Linked DNA regions of Homo sapiens: region 2 is linked to region 1. The links are contacts of gene promoters, found by promoter capture Hi-C in blood cells and fetal thymus (Javierre and others, 2016). All regions are on one chromosome and are shown on one strand. The core of a region is centred on a gene start or on the middle of the fragment in contact, and the rest is flanking DNA. Distances in the headings are between cores, read along the strand shown. Region 1 has its middle 24 kb from the start of MIR4300. Region 2 holds the start of CCDC90B (coiled-coil domain containing 90B).

The links. Contacts are between HindIII fragments. The CHiCAGO score rates a contact against its expected background, and 5 or more counts as called.
Region 2: a contact is called between the fragment with the promoter of CCDC90B here and a fragment that was not itself captured in region 1, in 3 of 17 cell types (naive CD4 T cells, non-activated CD4 T cells and naive CD8 T cells). The highest score is 8.3, in naive CD4 T cells.

The regions. Positions count from the first base shown.
Region 1 is chr11:81,864,418-81,869,625 of GRCh38, forward strand. No RefSeq gene overlaps it. Among named protein-coding and RNA genes, the nearest start is that of MIR4300, 24 kb to the right of the region's middle. The HindIII fragment of the contact is 7,284 bases long and covers 1-5,208 here.
Region 2 is chr11:83,283,626-83,288,833 of GRCh38, forward strand. It overlaps CCDC90B (coiled-coil domain containing 90B), which reads right to left and starts at 2,742. Exons shown (of 9, transcript NM_021825.5): 1 at 2,248-2,742. The coding sequence starts at 2,347. It overlaps CCDC90B-AS1 (CCDC90B antisense RNA 1), which reads left to right and starts at 2,495. Exons shown (of 3, transcript NR_186344.1): 1 at 2,495-2,922. RefSeq lists enhancers at 1,515-2,111, 2,000-2,079, 2,112-2,707, 2,130-2,779. The HindIII fragment of the contact is 4,800 bases long and covers 1-3,196 here.

The DNA of each region.
Region 1 (5,208 bases), core at 1,865-4,364:
CCAGCGTCTGTTGTTCCTTGACATGGAATACTATGCAGCCATAAAAATAAATGAGATCATGCCCTTTGCAGGGATGTGGATGAAGCTGGGAGCCATTATCCTCAGCAAACTAACACAGGAACAGAAAACCAAACACCACATCTTCTCACATGTAAGTGGGAGCTGAACAATGAGATCACATGGGCACAGGGAGAGGAACATCACACATTGGGACCTGTCGGAGGGGTGGGGTTGGGGGTGGGAGAGTGTTAGGAAAAACAGCTAATGCATGCTGGGCTTAATACCTAGATGATGGGTTGATAGGTGCAGTAAACCACCATGGCACACTTTTACCTGTGTAGCAAACCTGCACATCCTGCACACGTACAGGATGTGTAAAAGTAAAAATTAAAGTTAAAATTAAAAATTAAAAAAATACACACTTCAAAAAATTATCTTTCAAATGAAAGCAAAATAACAGTAAACTGAAACGCAATTTTCAGTTGTTATATTGGAGATAGAACATTACTAGCCAGGTAGCAATATATACAAAACAATTCTTTGATCCCGCATTTCTAATTTATAGAATTTATAAAGTAGATATACCTTAACACATACAAAATGGCAAATGAACAATGTTATTCTTTGCAAAAATGTAATAAAATAGTCAAATATTGGAGGATTGTTAAATCATGGGATTCCATACACATGATGAAAAACCATGCATGAAAAGAATGGAGAAGGATTTTATGTAGCAATATGGAAAGCCCCCAGAATTTATTAGGGAAGAAAATGAAGTTTATAACAGTATATATAGGATGATATATTTTGTCTAAATAAGGAGGAAAATTAAAAGGTAGATTTTTTTTTGTATTTGTATAAATAAATGACAAGAAGGATGCAGATGCACACAAAAAAAATCCAAAAGCTGTGTATGTGGGGAGTGAAAGTTATTTAATGTGGTCAAAGGTGGAATTAAGAGTTTCCACAGTTCACATTTTGAGTAAAATTTATATTTTTTAACCTGTAAATATGTAAGAAATTTAAATAATTGAAAAATGTATGCTTTAGATTTTATGTACTTTCACTTCTTTTCCATCAGCATCTAATCCACCAGACTGTCAGAAATAGAAATCACCTAAAAATCATTTAAAGTAATGCATACTTATAAAAATAGAAACCTATAAATTGACCCTCTCTGAAAAGAAGAATATAGATTTATATTTGTTTATATTTACATGTAGAAATAATTGGATACACAAAAATAAAAAATATTTACATATGATAACTAATTATATCAGTTGTTTCTCCCTGAGTCATAAACATTATCACAAAAACAGCTGTTATTTCTTTTTTGTGTGTTTATGTGCATACATATAATGCATGTTTATATGTGTATATGTGGAGAGAGATTATACATATACATATATAATCTAAATAATTATATGCATATTATTTTTCCTGAAAAATATTTATATTAGGTATTGTTTTTCTCTTAATTATATTATGAAAATAATTCCATGAAAATACTTCCAAGGCAGTGAAGAATATTTTAATATCTAGCTGTATTTTTTATTATTAATTCAAATGATTCCCTTTGCTGGGAATTTAAGTTGTTAATATTTTTAAGTTACTGAATTGTTACAGTGAACATAATTGCATGTTGTTCCATTTTCAGGTCATATTATTATTATTATTATTAATTTTCTTATATTCTTTCTGGAACAGTGGGAAACATAAATAAAATATTTGGTACAATAGTCTTTCTAGAAAGACTATTATAATTTTTTATTTTCTTCTATATTCTTTGTTGGGCCATAAGCTCATGAAGAAAGAGGTTATGAGAAATCTTCATTTCTGTATTCTTAAAGAATAATGTCTTCTTTATAAAGGTATTTAGTGGATGTTTAAAGAATAAGCAGCCACATTCTTTCTAATTTCTATAAGCAAAATAAACAGCCACTGGCGCTCTCTGCCCTAGGAACATAGGTGCGTGTGTGAATATTTTTGTGTAATGTACATATATGTGTATATATATGTGTAAAAAATTATACATATGTATGTGTGTGTGTGTGTATATATATATAATCTTACTCTATTCTGGTATAGAACAAGGAACAGGCACAAGATTATTTACTCTTTCTTTGGATTTCATTGATTTTTGATTCATAACCTTAAATGCTTTGAGCTTTATGAGTATTAAGTCAAACACTAATAAAAGTAATTATTCAAATATTATACACATGCTATGTTTCACTTTAGCCCCTGTCCAAAAAAAAAAAAAACAAGTTTTTCCCTTGAAATCTTTTTTTTCTTATACTGAAAATTGCATTAACTTTCACTTATAAGTTTTAACATCTCTCTTTTTTCAGACATCTTTGCTTAACTTTCAAACAATTGCTTTAACTAAATTTCTCTCAGTACAACTATAAAATCTAAGTAGCCTAACCAGGGCATAGTTATGTGGCTAATAACCAATATCTGAGCAAAAACAACCATTCATCTTTCAAAGTCTAACATTGTATTTTCTTAGGACAAAAGGGGAATTTGTTTTAAATTCAAACTAAATTATTGTTTGTCAGAGAAATTTATTACATTTTGAAGTACCGTAAGATAAGCATATTTCAATATAGCCTGCAATTTCTTTTTTGCAAGCCAGTATTTATTTAACACTATTTTGCTTTCTCTGTGCATATTTCTGGCTTCTCCTCCCAAGCTGTTTGCTGTTTTATAGCAAATGAAAATATGTTTGCGGAAATTGCATATAAAACTGTTTATTGAGACTTAAATCTTCTGTGGCTGTTGTTTTTCCCTCAAAGCTCCCAGTTCTAGTTCTCTCTCTCTCTCTTTCTCTCCCTCTCTCTCTCTCTCCCTCTCTTTGTCTCTCTCTCTTTTTGTGTGTGTGCGTGTTTAATATAATTAAATTTCTATATCTTATATACCCTTAGTCTATCATTCATTTCGAGTTGGGTTAGGACGATGGGAGGTAAGTCAGTTTTTTAATGCACCTAATGCTCCTGAACATATAAGTAAAGAAAGAAGAATTTTGTGCTGGATCCAAGAGCATTTATATTTAACTATATGTAAGAAAAAAGATAATTTTTGACACTATATTGTTCATAATTTAAGTTTGGTTGCATATGAATACTTAAAGGTCTTTAACTAAAATATTTGCCATTACTTTTAATGGCAAAAACTGCAATTACTTTTGCACTAACCTAATGGAATGTTATTATTTTCTGAAGGTAAGTCCAGGTATAAGCAAAGTAGGGCTGTACAGCATTGAAGAATAGTCAGATTGCTGACCAATCTGATCCTGAGTAGAGTCTTTATCCAGTACTTGCTATTTGTATTAGCCAGTTCTCACACTCCTATAAAGAACTACCTGAGACTGGGTAATTTATGAAGGAAGAGGTTTAATTGACTCACAGTTCTGCAGGCTGTACAGGTGGCATGGCGGGGCAGGCCTCAGAAAACTTACAATCATGGCAGAAGGGTGAAGGGGAAGCAAGCACGTCTCCACATGGAGGAAGGAGAGAGAGAGAGCAAATGGGGAAGTGCTACACACTTTCAAACAACCAGATCTTCAGAGAACTCACTATCACGAGAACAGGAAGGGGGAAATCTACCCCCGTGATACAAGCACCTCCCACTAGGTCCCTCCCCCAACATTAGGGATTACAATTCAACATGAGATTTGAGTGGGGACATGGAGCCAAACCATATCGCTATTGTTCACTCATTCATTCTCTAGAAACCACCTATCAAAATCCCCATTTTTAGCTGTGTAGTATTTTATGTAAATATCTATAATATACCTACAGATACATGTATAAATTTTAGAATAGTATTAGATTTATAGAAAAATCATGAAGATAGTAGAGTCTGTGTATTCCTCACCTCCGGTTTCTCCTATTATTATCTTATATTACTATGGTGCACTTGTCATAAATAATGATCTAATATTGATAAATTGTTATTAACCAAACTCTATAATGTATTTGAAATTTATTAGTTTTTTTCTCCTTCCTCTGTTTCAGGGTTCCATCCAGGATACTGCATTTAACTGTTATTTTTCCTTAGGGTCCGCTGGTTTGTACTGGTTTCCTAAACTTTCTTTGTTCTTGATTACTTTAACAGTTTTGAAGATCAGATATTTTATGGAATGATCCTATTTTCAGAAGCCCTCAATTTAGTCTCCCTAATGTTTTTCCCAAAATAAAACTAAGGCTATGTGTTTTGGGAAGAAAGACCACAGATACAGAGTGCCGTTCTCCACACATCCTGTCAATTATACATAATATCAACATAACTGACCCCCAACAATATCAATCTTGATCACCAACCTGAGGGTTGTCACGTTTCTCCACTGTAAAGTTACGCTTTTTCCCTTTCTATCCTGTCCTCTTGGGAGAAAAGTCACCATGCACAACCCACACTAAAGGAGTGGAGAGTCATGCTCCATTTCTTGAGAGTGGAGTATCAAATTTATTTGGAATTCTTTTGCATTGGATGTTTGTCTGTTTGCTCCTATTTATTTAATATAAATTTAAATCAAATGTAATTAAATTCAGTATACTTTAATCAAATCTATTTAATATAAATGAACTGTTTAATAAACAGTTAAATATAACTGGACTAATTTATATTTATTTTATACTTTGTGTTATAACACTAAAGTTTTACTTAGTCTGTTGCACAAATTGCTCCAGCTTTGGCCATTGAGAACACTTATGTCCCTTTTTGATACACCCATCATTATGGGATTTTTAAAATCATTTCTTACTTTCTGGAGCTATAAGATACTCTAAGATACTCTAGTATTATCTTGTCTATTACATTCTCCACACCAGAAATTTGATATTTTACCAAGTTGCCTCAGTTCCTTTTTTTTTTTAGCAATTAATATTAGAATCAAATGTCTGGGCACTGAGTTTGCTTGTTGTTAGAATATCAGCATGTTATTGCTTCAGTGAGCAGAGCTAGGAAATATGTGTGTGGGGGGAGAGAGAGAGAGAGAAAGAGATAGGTGTGAAGGGACTCAGCAGAATGGGCGAGGGGCATATGCCAGTCTGAGCAAATGAAGGTTTATGCCACACTTCATCTTTGCAGTTAATCTGTGAGGCTGCTGAGAAACCAGCCTGTGATTCCCCTGTTGCTTCAGCAGGAGACATATGCTGCATATCACTAAATATTACACCCCAAATGGCAAGACACTGTGAAACAATG
Region 2 (5,208 bases), core at 1,492-3,991, 1.4 Mb after region 1:
CAACTGTGTCATGGGCAGTTCAGTGCATAAGCACTCATTAAGAATGTCTTTACAGGCCGGGTGCAGTGGCTTATGCCTGTAATCCTAGCACTTTGGGAAGCCAAGGCAGGCGGATTGCTTGAGCCTAGGAGTTTGAGATCAGCCTGGGCAACGTGGGAAGATTCTGTCCCTACACAAATTACAAAAACTAGCTGGGCATGGTGGTGTGTGCCTGTAGTCCCAGCTACTTGGGAGGCTGAAGTGGGAGGATCACCTGAGCCTGGGAGGCACAGGCTGCAGGGAGCCGAGATGGCGCCAAGGCACACCAGCCTGAGTGACAGAGACCCTGTCTCAAAAAAATAAAAAATAAAAATAAGTAAGTCTTTGCAGCCATATTAATAGGTAGGGGAGATGAAGTGCCCAGAATCAGTGTTTCCAGCTCAAAGTGGAATAACAGATCCTTAATAATTTGAAGAGTTTTGTACAGACTTAAACATCTGTACAAAACCCCAAACCTTTCCTTTCATTGTTACTACTTTTGTTTCTTTGATACCTATCTTGTGGATTTGTTTGTTCGTAATAGCGAGATACAAACTCAAGAGTTTAAAGGTTTAACCAGTTTCACAAAACTACTAAGTCATAGATTGTGGATTGGAACTCTGGCCTATCTTGCACCAAGCTCCTCTTTGCTGGAAAAGGTCAAATTTTACTTTTGAAAAAACAACCAAGCAAACATGTAAAGTGTTGTCCCATTAAATTTAAGCTGCAAGTTTTATATTAATTTACTGCTAATTTTACAGCTGAAACACTTCAGTGTATAGCCAGTTACTTTTCTGTCAGGAATTCAAAAGAACAGGCATTAACAGCATATATTCTTACATGCTGGTCTACTAACGTGCTACACTAGTTGCACTAGAATAACTAAGGTCCTTCCATTGGTCAGAGGTCAAGGTTTTCAAATCCCTTGATTATTGACATTATTAGGCAAGTTTAAACTACTTGTATAAAATAAACATTCAATATTTGTTTAGTGAGGAAGGACACAAATCCTACTAGTTGTAAGAAGAGATTTAAGGTTTCTCCAAGAACACTCAGATTCAAGTGGGATAACTTTTATGTTAAAACATTAACATGTACTTATGGTCATTTATTTCCCAGTATGATATACACTTCAAAGTTCATTCTCTAAGAACATTTAATTTTGTTTTCATTTGGATATGTAAAAGTCAACAAAGATGGCAGCTGGATGACTTCCTGGAGTTCAAAAGTGCTACCTCCTTTTTGTAAAATCCATCATAATGTGTATGTATGCTAAACACTCAAATACCTAACAAAAGAGACCTTGTGAATGACCCTGGCAGCTAAACAGCAATCTCACAGATGGAGGATCAACAACTGCAGTTTTGACTGCAGCTGTTACTGGTGTGGATTAAAATGAAACAATGAGCAAAATAGCACAAGTAACAATATGGAGTATAAATAACAGCGTAGAAGTGTTTGGGTACCGAATGGCTCAGCGTACCTGGCACTGAAGATTCAAGAAGGTGAACAGAGATAAGAGGTGCCTATTCGCCTATTTTGTGGACAACCTTAAAACGGTTTAAAAACTGGGAGGGAAGTTAAAAAACTGGGGGTGAAAAACAACGACGACAACAAAAACCTAGCCCTAGAAACATTTCTCTGAATAAAGTTAGATGTCTTCAGGACACCCTGTTAACAGGGGTGCCAACAGGTTGGAAACTTGTGGGTTCCAGTATTCACTTATTTTCCCAAAGTCTACAATGTGACTGAAATGTACTGAGAATTCCAGTGAGAATAAGGCAGACGTGGCCTGAAATTTATGATGCTGTCTACCAAAAACCTGGGCTCGAGGCCAGCACCTAAAAAAACAAAATCAAAATTTGATCAGGCCACAAAAGAAAACAGGACACCCTCAAACACAGATTACCTTACGTTGGCTCCTGACGAGATTACTAGCCTCTTGTCACCAAAAAACGGAAACAACGGCTGAGAAAGAAGCCGGGCGCGAAGCCCAGGCCTTCAAAGGTTCGCTTTAAGAACAGAAAGGCAGTGCTTTCCTCAGTCCTCGCCCCTTGGGGCGAGCTGGGCAAGTCGGGGCAGCAGGCAGCGGCGTCGCCCAGCACAAGGCGTGAATCCGGGAGGAGGGCGTGGCACCTTCTCTTCCCGTTCGCTCGAGCAGGCGCGACCCCACGGGCATCGTCTCCCTAGAGAGCACTCAGGCATCTATGACACGACGCCTTGCCTCACCTCTCCGCAGGGCCGGCGAGAAATGCCCGCGGGGCCTTGAAACCCAACGATCTCCTCTGCCTTGGGAGAGAAAGAGCCGCCAAGCCTGGCGACTATTCATGTCCTCAGAGTTTTCCGGTGGGAGGGAGGCGGAAGACGGGGTAAATCTCGCACAGGCTTTCGGGCAAGGTAGTTCTGGCACCACAGGAATGCTGGGAATTGTAGTTTTCGCTCTGTCACAAGCTCACCTCCCAGCGCAGGCGCCACCGTGGTCCCACGAAACTGGGTCTCTTCACAGACAGACCCACAGTTCGCGAGCATGGCTCAGCGCTGCCCCGCTTCTCCCAGCGCCCCTTCCCGACCTTTGAACGCCTTCACCGCCCTAGGAAAGCGAGATCTTGTCAGAGAACCTTCCGGCGCCTGTTTCCTGGCAGTGGGGCATAGTCCAACAGCTGGCTCCCCCAAGATAGCCAGCGGCCATTACGCGCTTGGGTCGGGGGAGATGGAGTCGCATTTAGCCGCACAGCAGCCTGGAACCTGAAGTTTTCGGCCGCTGAGCGTTCTGGGTGATTGCGTAGTGCGAGGGCCAACGAAACCTTCTGGGAAGTGTAGTCCAGCAAGCCGCTCACTTTTCGTGAGGCGTCACATCCTGCTGCTTCACCCTCTGGTGCACGGGAGGACCAACTATTTCAGTCGGTATGTCCTTTCTTTAGGGAAGCCGAATTCCTCCGTTTCTAGGAGAAATTCCTTGAATTTTCACCATTTATCCTTCTCAGACCTCAGTTACTCAAGACTGCTCCGCATAGTAAAATGCTGAAAGCAACAATGCACAGTAGTTGTATTAAAATGCACTAATACTCATGAATATTCTCTGTAAGTTGTAAAATGGCACACAGTTGTGCGGTGTTAGTGGCTTACTCTCTCAAGATTCTAAACAATTACGGCTAGGTTTCTATCTATATGTATTCAAAGCTTTGTGAGAGTCAACTAAGTAACAAACACCATTTCTAAGGCCCGAAGCACATTGAAAGAACAAAACTTGATTCCCGCCAACAACTGCTTTAACAGACAATTCATGAAGAGGAAATATAAATTGCTATTTAAAACACTGGGATGGCTGGGCGTGGTGGCTCATGCCTGTAATTCCAGCACTTTGGGAGGCCGAGGCGGGCAGATCACCTGAGGTCGGGAGTTCGAGACCAACCTGACCAACGTGGAGAAACCCTGTCTATATTAAAAATACAAAATTAGCCGGGCGTGGTGGCACATGCCTGTAATCCCAGCTACTCAGGAGGCTGAGGTAGGAGAATCGCTTGAATCCTGGAGGCGGAGGTTGCAGTGAGTCGAGATCACACCATTGCACTCCAGCCTGGGCGACAGAGTGAGACTCGATCTAAAAAAAAAAAAAAAAAATTGGGAAAAAAGTTTGATCTTACCAGTTTCAAAATACAAAACGCAAAACCTTAGGGTATATCGAGGTTAGGGGTCCCAATGATCCCAACAGGATGTAAGCATAGTACTCAACAGGTGCTTTTTCAACCCATGCCCCTCTGTCCGTCTCCCCCTTTCCTCATCTAATGATCCTCAATGCCTGTTGTTTCCACGTTTACCATCATATATTCAATGTTTAGCTCCTACTTATAAGTGAGAACATGTGTATTTGGTTTTCTGTTCTTGGCATTAGGTTGCATAGGATAATGGCTCCAGTTCCATCCATGTTGCTACAAAGAGTATAATTTCCTTATTTTTATGGCTGCATTATATTCCATGGTGTATATGTACCACATTTTCTTTATCCAGTCCACTGTTGATGGGCACTTAGGTTGATTTCATGTCCTTGCTATCGTGAATGGCACTACAATGAACATACGGTTGCATGTGTCTTTTTTTTTTTTTTTTTTTTTTTGGCTTGAGGCAGGGTTTTGCTGCGTCACTCAGGCTGGAGTGCAGTCGTGCATGGCTCACTGCAGCCTCAACTTCCTGGGCTTAACTGATCCTCCTGCCTCAGGCTTCCAAGTAGCTGTGACTACAGGTGTGCACTACCACAACTGGCTAATTTTTGCATGTTTTGTAGAGATGGGGTCTTGCCATGTTGCCCAGGCTGGTCCAGAACTCCTGGGCTCAAACTATCCACCCGCCTAGGCCTCCCAAGTGCTGGGATTACAGGCATGAGCTGCGGTGCCCAGCTCTGTGTCTTTTTGATGGCATGAATTATTTTCCTTTGGGTATATACCCAGTAGTGGGATTGCTGGGTTGAATGGTAGTTGTATTTTAAGTTCTTTGAGAAATCTCCAAACTGCTTTCCATAGTGGCTGAACTAGTTTGCATTCCCATCAACAGAGTATAAGCATTCCCTTTTCTTCACAGCCTAACCAATATGTGAATTTTTTTTCTTAATAATTGCCATTCTGATGGGTGTGAGATGGCATCTCATTGTAGTTTTGATTTGCATTTCTCTAATGATCAGTGGTGTTGAGGATTTTTTCATGTTTGTTGGCTATTTGTATGTCTTCTTTTGAGAAGTGTGTGTTCATGTCCTTTGCTCATTTTTTAATTGGATTGTTTTATACTTCTTGGTTTGTTTAAATTCCTTATAGATTCTGGATGTTAGACCTTTGTCAGATGCATAGTTTGCAAATATTTTCTCCTTCCCATTCTTAGGCTATCTGTTTACTCTGTTGGTAATTTCTTTTGCTGTGCAGAAGCTCTTTAATTAGGTCCCACTTGTCAGTTTTTATTTTTGTTGTAATTGCTGTTGGGGACTTAGCTATAAATTCTTTTCCAAAGCCTGTGTCAAGAAGGGTATTTCCTAGTTTTTTTTCTAGAGTTTTTATAGTTTGAGGGCTTACTTTTAAATCTTTAATCCAGCTTGTGGTAATTTTTGTATATGGTGAGAGGTAGGGGGGTCCAGTTTCATTCTTCTGCATATGGCTAGCCAGTTATCCCACCACCATTTACTGAATAGGGAATGCTATCCGTGTT